Regions from separate parts of the Homo sapiens genome. Here region 2 is linked to region 1. Evidence: promoter capture Hi-C in 16 types of primary human blood cells and fetal thymus (Javierre and others, 2016). All regions are on one chromosome and are shown on one strand. The core of a region is centred on a gene start or on the middle of the fragment in contact, and the rest is flanking DNA. Distances in the headings are between cores, read along the strand shown. Region 1 holds the start of SORT1 (sortilin 1). Region 2 overlaps WDR47 (WD repeat domain 47).

The links. Contacts are between HindIII fragments. The CHiCAGO score rates a contact against its expected background, and 5 or more counts as called.
Region 2: a contact is called between a fragment that was not itself captured here and the fragment with the promoter of SORT1 in region 1, in 1 of 17 cell types (M2 macrophages). The highest score is 6.2, in M2 macrophages.

The regions. Positions count from the first base shown.
Region 1 is chr1:109,393,920-109,400,912 of GRCh38, forward strand. It overlaps SORT1 (sortilin 1), which reads right to left and starts at 3,999. Exons shown (of 20, transcript NM_002959.7): 1 at 3,668-3,999. The coding sequence starts at 3,973. It overlaps PSMA5 (proteasome 20S subunit alpha 5), which reads right to left. Exons shown (of 9, transcript NM_002790.4): 9 at 5,123-6,993. RefSeq lists silencers at 3,776-3,875, 3,886-3,955, 3,996-4,125 and an enhancer at 4,152-5,133. The HindIII fragment of the contact is 10,275 bases long and covers 1-5,026 here.
Region 2 is chr1:109,020,972-109,027,836 of GRCh38, forward strand. WDR47 (WD repeat domain 47) reads right to left here. Exons shown (of 15, transcript NM_001142551.2): 2 at 2,384-2,550. The coding sequence starts at 2,541. Among named protein-coding and RNA genes, the nearest start is that of WDR47, 18 kb to the right of the region's middle. The HindIII fragment of the contact is 648 bases long and covers 2,462-3,109 here.

The sequences.
Region 1 (6,993 bases), core at 2,749-5,248:
ACACACACTCATTTAATTCTCACAACCACCCTACAAATTAAGTGCTCTTATCTTCACTTTACAGATTAGGAACTGAGACACAGAAAACTTAAGTAACTCACCCAGGATCACACAGTGACATGGCCAGGGTTCAAATGCAGGCAGTCCAGATAAGGCAGTGCTATACCACCTTACCATGGTAAGTCAAACCCTTAGAACAAAATTAGGGAGCATAATTTTTGGAAAGTTATAACTATTTATCTTTCTCCTTCGTTTTCTTGTCATCCCTTTTGTTTGTTTTTTTAGTAATAGCCAGTATTTTTTATTTCCACTTTCCCATGAGTCTATTATAGCTAACTTGTAATACTGTAACTAGAAAGGAAAATGTTTTCCTCTCCTGCCTCAACTCCTAAAATAAAGCACTTAATCATTAGGACTTCTATGTGAAAAAATATATGCTGTGTGTAATAAACCCAATGCACTTTAAATATATTTTAAATTAATAGATTGAAAAGAAATGATATGAGAAAAAAAACCTTAGAGAGAAAAAGGGAGGCTTGGGCAAAGAGAAAAACCTGCTGGATTTCATGGACAGAGAAGCCTGAGTGGTCATCAGGACACCGGTCTCCTTAAACCGTAATATAAACGCACTATTATGCTTTAGCTTTACCGTGCTTTCTTGAGAAGACAGGTTAAATGCTAATATATCCTCATAAGCCACAGACACAGGTCTAGTAGTTTGCTATAACCTTCTGAGGCTTTTCATTCTCCAGTCTGAATGATCTTTTCTTTGTATCTTGGCACCCCAGCATCTAGCACAGATCTAGGCATTTGGAGGGCATTCACATACATTGATGATGTGAATTAATGTGGCTTGAAATGAAACAGGACCAAGTTAAAAGAAATAAGAGAACCATGAACTTTTGCTTTTTCTTGGGACTCGAATCCTGTCATGTTATGTAGGAAAAATGATTCTACATGTACCTTCCTTCCCCAGTTGTACAAAGTACAATATCTCTGATAAAAAGTTGTTCTGTCATGCTGATGCTTTTATTTCACACTGTTTTATAAACGGTCCAAAAATACTAGATCTCTTCAATACAGTTCAGGATTTTTTATGACTTCTAAAACCAAATAAATAAACAGAAGAACAGGCTACTACATAACAATTCTTGGTTAAGAAGTACTACTTAACCATTTTTAAGGTAAATGATATTAAACAAAGGCTCCACTTTTTTTTTTTTTAACCAGATACAGAAAGGATGAGATCTCTGAAGAAGAGACCACGGATGACTAACAAACGCAAAAACTTTTTTTTTTTTTTTTTTTTTTTTTTTTTTGAGATAGAGTCTCACTCTGTCACCCAGGCTGGAGTACAACGGTGCGATCTCGGCTCGCTGCAACCTCTGCCTCCTGGGTTCAAGTGATCGTCATGCCTCAGCCTCCAGAATAACTGGAATTACAGGCGCATGCCACCGCGTCTGGCTAACTTTTGTATTTTTAGTAGAGACAGGGTTTCACCATGTTGGCCAGGCTAGTCTTGAACTTCTGACCTCAAGTGATCCACCTGCCTTGGCCTCCCACATTGATAAGATTACAGGCATGAGCCACCGTGCCCAGCCAAAATAGCTATTTTAAATAAGGTCACTGAAAAAAAGACTGGGAGAGAAAAACTAAAAAAAAATTATTGCAAACAGCTAAATGAAAGAAATAGAAGAAAATTTCTTTACATGTGGACTTCAAAGAATGAGTGGTTTTAGGTCTACTCTTCCACAGATTTGGCCTTAGAACCCCTGAGCCAGTTTTTTCAACCTCTTTCTTTGGAATCAATATATTACAAATGACACATCAATTCAAACTAACCAGGAAGACTCTGACTCAAGGAATAAATCCAGGCAGGGCATAGTGGCTCACGCCTCTAATCTCAGCACTGTGGCAGGCTAAGGTGGGTGGAGCACTTGAGCCCAGGAGTTCAAGACCAGCCTGGGGAACATGGCAAAACCCTGTTTCTTAAAAAAAGAAAGAAAGAAAGAAAAGAACAATTAGCTGGGTGCATGTACCAGTAGTCCCGGCTACTTGGGAGGCTGAGGTGAGAGGATCACTTGAGCCCAGGAGGTCAGGGCTGCAGTGAGCTGTGATCACACCACTGCATTCCAGCCTGGGCAACAGAGTGAGACCCTATCTCAAAAAAAAAATAGTAATTACACAAAAATTAGCTAGGCATAGTGGTGCACACCTGTAGTCCCAGCTACTCAGGAGGCTGAGGTAAGACTCTATCTCACAAAAAAAGAGAAAAAGAAAAACAGGAGTAAATCTAAATCCAGGAGTAGCAGCAGACCTAAAGTTAGGTCAACCAGCGAGAGAAGAATTTGAAATATGGAGCAAGAATGCTGTGACCAGCTAGCTCAAGGAAGGAAGTGGTCCAGTATAAATTAAGCATTAGTGTTGTAAAGCCTTTCTCAATCCCCCACTGTGAGAAGGAAGTCTATTCGATTTTTTTTTCTCATCAAGTAGGAAGACTTCCCAGTACTCATTCTACCCAACCTGTCTCACCCTCCAGCACTAGCTTGGCTACCTTTACACAGCTGCTGCTCGGGATACACTAAGCACAATTATTCCTGAATATTTGTGTCTTGTGTCCTCAGATCAGAGAATTCTATTACAGGTAACAAGTATGGTCCAGATAACCAGGCAGTCCAAAGGGAGACTGAGGCTTGGCTGACGCTGAAAAACGGTTACAGAAGGACAAGTGCTGGCACAGAGCCTTGGCCACCCATCTCTGCCCCCAAGTGCAATTCATTTTCTTTGAAAGAGGAAAACAGGCAAGGGAGAAAATATATAGAATTGAAAATACATTATGCAAATGTGGCTAGCAAGGATTAAATTGTTAATTTTAGAGAAATAGGAGAAAGATGCCCAAGTTGTGCTGAAGCAAGGAACCAGGACTTTCTTAATAATTAGTTTTGTCAGTCCAGTAGTGTGCAAAGGTTGAGCTGCTTGTCCCCAGGGACAGAAATCCCATAATTTTGAAAGTCTTTTGACCAAGAGCTGGCTCAAAGCAGAATATGTGCAATGCGTTTCTTAACTATTGAAAATCTTGTCACCACGGGATATAGACATGCTAGTCAGACTTCCGTACCATGACAGAAGGTCAAATCTGAAGCAGTAAAAGAGATCACATAAATATTGCCATCTCATTTCCAAGCTAGTCCCCTTAACTATTAAAACACGGTGACCAGATCGCTGCTTCGGGCCTCCTGAACTCCCGCCTCTCCCACCCGGAAAGTACTGACCCAGAGAGGACACACCTTTGCTTCTGCGCAGCCCAACTTCTGCAAGCGCTCAAGAGTTAATTACTCCTTCACCTTCCTGGGGCCTAACAGCGTTACTGGGTCCTGATTATTTATACAGACGAAAAACGATGTTCAAGAGATTTTGACAACTTAAAAAAAAAAAAAAGAATGCGGTGGAAGTCTAAGATTGCCTCCCCTATGACAAAACACAGCCCCGCCGGCCGCCCGGGCCCGACTCCGCCCGCCCGCCCGCCGCAGTTTCGGGGCTGCGGCCCGGGGGACGCGGGCGCGGCAGGGCTGGGGTCTCCTCCGGGAGTCGCGGGGCGCACGGGCCGGGAGGGGCACGCGGGCGGCACCTCGCACCCGAGCGGCTCCCGGGCCCGGCGCCCGCTCACCTGGTGCGTGTTGTTGGCCAGCTTGGCGACGAAGTCCCGGACCCGGCCGCACTCCTCGTCCTCGCCCGGCGCGCTGCGACGCCAACGGCCGCCGCGGGGAAACGCGCCCCCGGCTGCGGCCGCCCGCAGCCCCCAGCTCACCCCGATGGGGCCAGACCAGCGCGGCAGCGGCGCAGCGGGCGGCGGCGGCGCGTCCAGCCGGTCCTGGCTGAGGGTCGACGGCGGCAGCAGCTGCAGGAGGAGGAGGAGGCCGAGGCCATGGGGCCAGCGCGAGAGGCCGTCCGCAGCTCCCCAGGGCCGCTCCATCGCCGCCGAATGCCGCCGACGCCGACACCTGCCGCCCGGCGCGCCCGCCCACCCCCGCCGGCGCGCGCCACACCCCCGAGCCGAGCGCGGCGCTCCTTGGATACGCGCGGCCGGGCCTCTCCGCCCCATAGGCTGGCCGCCTGTCCCTCTTCCCCGGCCCACTCCTCATTGGCTCGCGTCGCCTCCGGCTTCGGGGGTCCTGGATTCGGATGCTAAGATGCGGGACTGATTGGCTGGAACGGGGCAGAGACTGCTGAGGTCAACCCCGCCTCGCCCGGCGTCTCCCGGGCCCGGCTTGTGGAGTTCACGTAGGAGCTTCTCATACCTTCCCGCCGAGCCCCGGGCTCCTGGCGTCGCGACCCCTTGCCGCACCTCTAGCGCCCTCAAGTTGGGGCTGGGTTACGTCCCTCCTGTTCCCCAGAGACACTCCTAAAATTCCTTCGGTGAGGCAGAGCCTGGAAAAACCTACCCAGGAAATCCCTGAGCTTGCTCAGCTGGAAAAGGGGGCTCCATCATGAACCGGGGCTTCGGGTTTTTATAAACCCCGCTCACTGGAGCGCCCATTGTCTGCTAAGCAGCTGCCTTGCTGCAAGAAGGTGAATGCGAACTGATGTGGGCCACATCCTACGGAGACAGACATCAGGACATCCGTGACTCCTGCAAGCCTGAAGAATAGTCTTTCCATACGTTTGGCCTCTCTCACCTTCCTCTTCTGAGGGGAGGTAGGCCAAAGGCGGAATTACTTACAGGTTTTCCAGGACTTCGAATGTAGCTTAGGCATTAGGGGCAGGTAAAAGAGGGGCAAGAGAATGATCCAATGCCTACTGTACACATGATCATTTCCTAGATGCACATTTATTTTACCAAAGTGCCTTAACTCTGCAGTGAGAGCTTCGGACAAGTTTGGTTCCAGTATGTGATGTCCTCTAAATTAGCACCCCGATCCACCTCTAATGAATAAAATAAAACCCCTACGCTGTTCCCTTTACCGCAGAAGCTGCACACACAACTTCTACAACACGTAGCACAGGTAAAACCAGTTCTGAATCCTTAAGCTTACTGACTCCATCCCTTCAGAAAGCTAGAAATTGTTCAGTAGAAAAGGTAGCAAATAGAAAGATACAAAATATGCAAGTCATTACACTCAAAGCAAGTAAAGATTACTTTTAATTATAAACTGGCCATAAACCCAAATGAGGATATAGTCATTGTAGAGCAAAATGATACAATGCACCCAACCCGATATTTACATTAAAATATTTCCAGTCACATTAACTTTCAAACAAAAAGACTTAACGAATTTACAAATTTTTCCAAGACGTGAGAAGTGAAAAATGTTTTTGAATGCCATCTGAGCAGGATAGTAAAATCACTAGAATAGTCTTTTTAAGTTCTCAGTTACTGGACTGAAAAGATAAAGCTGATGAAAATTGGTGAACAATTTGTTCCTTTCCATAACTACTATCAGATTAATTTAAAAAAGATTATTTTTAAATCTATGCCAACTATGGGAGTAGATCACAAGACAGTCAGTTCCAGTAGCATGTGATTAGGTGGGGGGAGGAAAGGGGGTTATAAAGGAATATTTCTTTGTTTGGGTGACACAAAGATGAATGGTCTATTGTCTTACTGTCTGAAAAGAAAAAACAACTCAACAGTGCCACCTCCTGGAGAAATTACCAAATACACTTTTAAACGCTATTAAATTTGTTCCAATTATCTGTACCTTCACTTTTTAGTATGTTGCTTTTAGTTATCACAGGCTTACAGTACTTATATATTTCCTTCTTCAAACTGTATCAGCTTCTGGGACATGGTAACTTGCATATGGCACTGAGAAAATGTTTGAGTGAATATATTTATTATTTCACTTTTTAAATTGGAAACCCTAGGAACTATATTTCATTTTTGTCTAATGAGATTGACATTAAATATAAAAGTGGCACTGTCAGTTCTCCTTTGTGAGATACTGGACATAAGATTTCACCTTATTTGCAGGACTAAAGTAAATTTATCTTATTACTAAAAACCGTACCTTTCTCCAGGAAACATTCTATAGCAGAAAGATAACATAAAGCAATTACACATCATGAAACCATTGCTGTTCGTAGTAAGATCACTTCTTTAACCTAAGAAAGCTTGTTTTAATATTCTACAAAAAAATCAAAGTTCTACCTCTTTGAAGAATGCCAATTATAGAAGGTACGAAATTTACTGTTTTACCAGGTAAAACACAAATATGCTGCCCAGCCAGTGGGAGGGAAAACAACTTAAGCTGAGGCGAACGGACATAGGCTAAGAGCTACTCCTTAGTATTTGGGCATTTTTCCCCCTATGAAATGCATGTGATTCAGAGACACAACTCACCTCTCCCAAAAGCAACATGGGCTTTATCCATTTCTGCATTAACCTAGAGTTAAAAAGGAATATTGTTTATTGTTTGGCTCTCCCCACTAGAAGTTTCACAGGAGCACAGATCATATCTACCATTTGAACAGCTCTCTGCCTGATGGCTAATACATTTCTTGGCATATAGTAGGTAGGTGCTCAATAAATTTGTTACAGGAATAAATGAGATAGGATTTTCAAGGGTATTTTCTATTAGGATTTAATAAAACAAAGTGATCTTTAGAGAAACAAATCTCCCCATCAACATGCTATACTTAATAAGTGTTAAAATCACTAGAAGTCTCTGGAACATTCAGTAACAATATACTCTAATTCTCTGCTTTCCTTATGTGTTATTCTAGGGCAAAATCCCTTTCTTCCAAATGTTTCCTATCATTGCAGTTTCCAAATGTATATAAACATGTTGTTTTTTGTTGAACTACAGTATGGATTTAGTATGAATTCAGCCTATCCAAATAGTCATAATTTATTAACATATAGTACAACTTCCTACACATCAATATACCCAGAGCCCAGCAAATAATTATGGGGTCCCTGTTAGTGAATTAAATCAATTCTGCATCATCCACATATGGATTAGCCATGTTGTGGACAGTGCAAGTACTTTTCAA
Region 2 (6,865 bases), core at 1,536-4,035, 370 kb before region 1:
TGCCTCCTGGGAGGAACACTTCATTTCTTGAGGCTTTCCAAGTCACAAAATGCCACATGTCCAAGAATCTGTACTTCTTGTCAAGGATATTTGGTATCTCATAAAAATAGAATACACTTCTGCCTGCAAATTTGGGATTTTCCGTTTCTATCCAATTCAGACTAGAATATATTTAGCTTTCCATTTTGGCAAACATGTTACTTCACTTTGCCTTGCAATTCCACCTCTAAGAATCTTGTCCTAAGGAAATAATCCAATATATAGAAAAAGTCTCAGCTAGGTGCAGTGGCTCATGTCTGTAATCCCAGCACTTTGGGAGGCCGAGGCAGGCAGATCACCTGAGGTCAGGAGTTTGAGACCAGCCTTGCCAAAATGGTGAAACCTTGCCTCTACTAAAAATACAAAAATTAGCCGGACGTGGTGGTGTGCACCTGTAGTCCCAGCTACCTGGGAGGCTAAGGCGAGAGAATCACTTGAACCCAGGAGGTGGAGGTTGTAGTGAGCTGAGATCATGCCACTGCACCCCAGCCTAGGTGACAAAGCAAGCCTCTATCTCAAAAAAAAAAAAAAAAAGGCGCAAGTATAAAATGTTCTGTAGAGCAATTATTTAAGATAAATTGGGAACAATTGTTTAAAATTAGGGGAGCCATTAGGAAATTAAGTAAACTGAAATTTTTTATTTGTAGCTGGAATTACAGGCATGCACCACTATGCCCAGCTAATTTTAGTATTTTTAATAGAGACGGGATTTCACCACGTTGGCCAGGCTGGTCTCGAACTCCTAACCTTAAGTGATCCACACGGCTCAGCCTCCCAAAGTGCTGGGATTACAGGCGTAAGCCACCACGCCTGGCCTTTTTTAATTTATTATTTATTTAATTTATTATTTATTTATTTATTTAGTCTTGCTCTGTCGCCCAGGCTGGAGTACAGTGGCACCATCATGGCTCACTGCAACCTCTGCCTCTCGGGCTCAAGTGATTTTCCTGCCTTAGCCTCTCGAGTAGCTGGGACTAGAGGCATGCACCACCACACCCAGCTAATTTTTGTATTTTTAGTAGAGACGGGGTTTCACTACGTTGGCCAGTCTGGTCTCAAACTCCTGACCTCAGGTGATCCGCCTGCCTTGGACTCGCAAATGGCTAGGATTGCAGGTTTGAGTCACCATGCCCAGCCTGAAAATTTTTTAAATATAAGTTTGTAATCACACAGAGAAACCTTGTGATGTTAATAGATAAGGCATGATTCTAAATCATAAACACAACAGAATTGTTATTTTTAATAGATGCAAAAAAAAGATGCACAGAATTTACACTCTAAGAATGAAAACAGCAAGGAATAAGAACAATATTATGTCTGTGTGGTGGGGTAATTTTTCTTTTATTTATCTTTCTATATTTTCTATAATGAACACATCTTATTTCTATGGCCAAAAAATGGTATTTCAGAAACATTTTCTTTACCTTTTCAAAGTCCGATTTTCTTAGTCAAATATCTTTTATTATCATACCACAACCACAATGGAGTGATGACTCTTGTTCTTTTTAACAGACCTCTGGGTCTTACTACTGAAAACATTCTACAGAAAGCATTATTTTGTAAATGTTCCTTTTTTTTATTTTTGTATTTTTGAGACGGAGTCTCACTCTGCTGCCCAGGCTGGAGTGCAACGGTGCGATCTCAGCTCACTGGAACCTCCGTCTCCCTGGTTCAAATGATTCTCCTGCCTCAGCCTCCCGACTAGCTGGGATTACAGGCATGTGCCACCATGCCCGGTTAATTTTTATATTTTTAGTAGAGGCGGGATTTCACCATGTTGGCCAGGCTGGTCTCAAAACTCCTGACCTCAAGTGATCCGCCTGCCTCAGCCTCCCAAAGTGCTGGGATTACAGGCGTGAGCCACCACGCCCAGCCTATTTTGTAAATGTTCTATTTTTAAAATATTTTTTTAGGTCGGGTGCGGTGGCTCACGCCTGTAATCCCAGCACTTTGGGAGGCCAAGGTGGGCAGATCACGAGGTCAGGAGATCGAGACCATCCTGGCTAACATGGTGAAACCCCATCTCTACTAAAAATACAAAAATTAGCTGGCCGTGGTGATGGGCGCCTGTAGTCCCAGCTACGCAGGAGGCTGAGGCAGGAGAATGGCGTGAACCCGGGAGGCGGAGCTTGCAGTGAGCCGACATCTCGCCACTGCACTCCAGCCTGGGTGACAGAGCAAGACTCCGTCTCAAAAAATAAAATAAAATAAAATATTTTTTAAAATTATACTTACATAGCCTTTTCATGATTATAAAGTTCTATCTGTATTATATATATTACCTTATTAATACTTAACATTTCTTCGAAGGAGCTACAAACTTCACAGTATAATGAAATCATACCTCAGGAAAAGCATATCATCTGAAAACAGGCCATTTATGACTCCACTTTCCTTCTCCAGGGCCAGCATACTAATGTGAAGCTTCTTTGAATTCAGGAAGTCCAAAATTAGCTTAATGATTTCAACCTCTTTTACATTCACTGTTTCTTCAGCCGTCATATTGATAGCCTAAATATGAAACAGAAAAACAATAAAGCTAGTCCTATTGATTTATTTCTAAGTTTAACTGCCTGGCAACTACACATAACAGGTTTACTGGGAATCTTTAGTACACATATTCTGAAGTGAAGTTAACTTAGTATTTATCAAAACCAAGTCGTTCTTTAATATGTGACAATGGTATGGCCATGATTTTTTAAAGTCCTTATCTTTGAAATACATATTGGAATAATTACAGATTAAATGATATAAACTTTGTGATTTACATGAAAATAATAGAAGAGAAGAGTGGGAAGAGATAAAGATGAAACAAGAATGATTATGGTTACTGAAGCAGGGTAATAGGTAAATGAGGGTTTATTATATAATCCTGTCTACTCCTACATGTTTAAAATTTTCCATAATAGAGAATATTTTAAAAAGTCATTAATAACCAAACCATGTTTAGCTATGTCCCAAATACATTGTCCCAGGTATGCTCTAATACATTCACTCAATAAGTACTTAATGCCTTTTCTCTGTGACAGACATGATTCTGTACTCAGGAGACATTGGCCTTGCTTTAAGAAGCTTTAGTCTAGCAGTAATACCTAAATGATGACCTGGTCAGTACAGCGGAGCCAAACAAAACAAGGTTAGTTAAGATGTGCAACTTTAGGGCAGGTGTAGTGGCGTACGCCTGTAATCCCTGTACTTTGGGAGGCCAAAGTGGAGGGACTGCTTGAGTTCAGGAGTTCGAGACCAGCCTGGGAACCATGGCAAAACCACATCTGTACAAAAAAAATTAAAAAATTAGCAGGGCAAGATGGTGTGTGTCTATAGTCCCAGCACTCTGGAGGCTGAGGTGGGAGGATCGCTTGAGCCCAGGAGATCAAGGCTGCAGTGAGCAAAGATCGTGCCACTGCACTACAGCCTGAGCAACAGAATTAGACTCCGTCTCAAAAAAAAAAGAAAGAAAAAAGTGCAACTTTAGTCATATGGGTAATATCAGTGATATTTCAATACTCTCTAAGCTTCCTTCTAACTCTTACCTGTAGGTCTGCTACAACTGAGCACATAATGCTCAGGTTATGAATCCATAAAGATTTAGACCTGGGAGGACTATAAGATCATTTGTTCAACATTCTAATTTTACCAGTGAAGCCACACAAGTTAAATGGCCTAAACTGTTACAGTTTTCAAATGTTAAGGTTCAGAGCAATGCAAAATACCACCACACTAGGGGAGTAGCCACAAAGAAACTTCATCAGATGAAACAGACTATAAGCATATCTTTCTCACAGGACCAACTTATTCTAACCAAGCTTGCAGAAACATAAACATACACATGTGGACTGGGTGTAGTGACTCACGCCTGTAGTCCCAGCACTTTGGGAGGCTGAAGCAGGAGGATCGCTTGAGCCCAGAAGTTAGAAGTTACATACAGTGAGCTATGATCACACCACTGCACACCTCTGAACAACAGAGGAAGACCATGTCTCTAAACAAAACAAAACAAAAAATATATGTAGGCCCACAGGTTAGTGTTGTTTCCATTTCTTTACTTTTGGGTTGATTTTTTTGTTTATAACAAGAAATGCAAATGTCTAGCAGACTAGAATGCTCTCATCAGCAGATGAGTACATTTTCTCCCTCAGCTAGAGGCCTGGGCATGGTGGCTCACACCTGTAGTTCCAGCACTTTGAGAGGTCGAGGTGGGAGGATCACATGAGCCCAGGAGTGCGAGACAAGCCTGGGCAACATGGCGAAACATGGTCTCTACCAAAAATATAACAATCAGCCAGCATGTGTGCCTGTAGTTCCAGTTACTCAGGAGGCTGAGGTGGAAAGATCACTGGAGCCCCAGAAGTTGAGGCTACAGTGAGCGGTGATCATACCACTGCACTCCAGCCTGGGCGGTAGCGTGAGACTCTGCCTCAAAAAAAAAAAAAAAAAAAAGAAGGCTGGGCACAGTGGCTCACACCTGTAATCCCAGCACTTTGGGAGGCTGAGACGGGTGGATTATGAGATCAGGAGTTTGAGGCCAGCCTGGCCAACATGGTGAAACCCCACCTCTACTAAAAATACAAAAATTAGCGGAGCGTGGTGGCACGCACCTGTAATCCCAGCTACTTGGGAGGCTGAGGCAGGAGAATTGCTTGAACCCAGGAGGCGGAGGTTGCAGTGAGCCAAGATTGTGCCACTGCACTCCAGCCTGGGCAATAGAGCCAGACTCCATCTCGGAAAAAGAAAAAAAAACTAACAAATAAAAAAAAGTGGCGCTAGGGTAAACAAGGGACAAACCACAGAAAAATAATTATACGACTCACTCAAATATTTAATGACATCAGACTACACAAATCCCTCTGCAGAGTAAGAATATGTCTGTCTCAGGAAACAGTAAATCACAAACTTATCTCCCAACACACCAGCTACCCAACTCCGCATGCTTTAGGTTTCCCTTTCCTATCTTCTGAGCTGACCACCATCCTCCTGTTCACAGACTTCGTCCAAAAGAGGATACGGTAAAATAAGTTAAGATTTCCACTCACTAAATTCTTTTTTTTTTTTTAAAGACAGGGTCTTGCTCTGTCACCTAGGTTAGAGTGCAGTTGCATGACCATGGCCCACTGCAGCCTTGACCTCCCAGGCTCAAGTGATCCTCCCGCTTCAGCCTTCCAAGTACCTGGGATGACAGGTGTGTGCCACCGTACCCAGCTAATTTTTTATTTTACTTTTTGTAGAGACGGGATCTACCTATGTTGCCTAGGCTGCTCTCGAACTCCTGGGCTCAAGCAATCCTCTCGCCTCGGCATCCCAAAGTGTTGGGATTACAGGGATGAGCCACCGTGCCCACCTTTTTTTTTTTTTCAGGTTATCCGTGGAAACTACTCATTAAATTCTGATCATATCAGAACTGTCTCCCTAATATTATTCTTAGAGCACACTGATTAGTGATTTTAGCATTCCTCAAATCTTTAGACAATTCTTTTTTTTATTTTTACTGCTCCTTGCAGAGCAGGCTACCCAATAGGCAGTGTGCCCAGAGTAGCCCTTCAGGTAATTCTTACTAGCAAAAAAATGGCTTTTACTAATTTAACTCTCAGAAAAAAATATTCCCTCCTCTGTAGGTTCTTAGAGGGCACATCACATATATCTCCATGTACCAACCACACAAACTTAATGCACAATTGGGACTATAATTTTCTAATATAGCTCAATATACCAATGATACTAAACATTGTATAGGCTTCATATTCAACATTCAATCTAAATATCAGTCCAGATATAAAGTTACTCTGAATGGAATTTATGGCAATAGTCCCACTTTAAATAATAACTACAAGTTTAATGTTGCAGTCATTTTTGGTTAATAAAGCCTAAGAGAACTACATTCTTACAAATACATATTTTATACTGACAGTTGAAGGTAACAGAAAATATGTCCTAATTAACTTAAAATTGGTTCAAGTTTTCTTTTTAAAAAAAAACTAATTAAAAAAAGACAAGTTTTAATTCTATACCTTGAAATTCCCAGTAGAATAATATATTTTAATCACCCAACACAGAATTTTTTTTTTTTAAGGCAGAGTCTCCCTCTGTTGCCCGGGCTGGAGTGCAGTGGCAATCTCGGCTGGCTGCAACCTCCGCCTCCCAGGTTCAAGCAATTCTCTTGCCTCAGCCTCCTGGGTAGCTGGGATTACAGGCGTGCACTTACACAACCGGCTAATTTTTTGTATTTTTAGTAGAGACGGGGTTTCGCCATGTTTGCCAGGCTGGTCTCAAACTCTTGACCTCAGGTGATCCGCCCACCTCAGCCTCCCAAAGTGCTGGGATTACAGGCGTGAGCCACCAAGCCTGGCCCAGAATTTTAATTCTTATAAGCTTCACTGTTGCTGAATACAGTATAAATATAGGCATAGGCACATGCTTGATGACTATATCTTAGAATTATTCTCTTCTAACTCCCTTGTATTACTGAAACATTTATACAGGCTCCCAAAATCTTACCTCTGTAAGTGATATATACTGCATACTTTTTTTTTCCCCCAGATGGAGTCTTGCTCTGTCACCCAGGCAAGAGTGCAGTGGTGCAATCTCGGTTTACTGCAACCTCCGCCTCCCGGGTTCAAGTGATTCTCCTTCCTCAGCCTCCCAAGTAGCTGGGATCACAGGTGCCTGCCACCACGCCCGGCTAATTTTTGTATTTTTAGTAGAGATGGGGTTTCACCATCTTGGCAGGGCTGGTCTTGAACTCCTGACCTCGTGATCCACCCGCCTCAGCCTCCCAAAATGCTGGGATTACAGGCATGAGCCACCATGCCCAGCTATATACATATTTTAA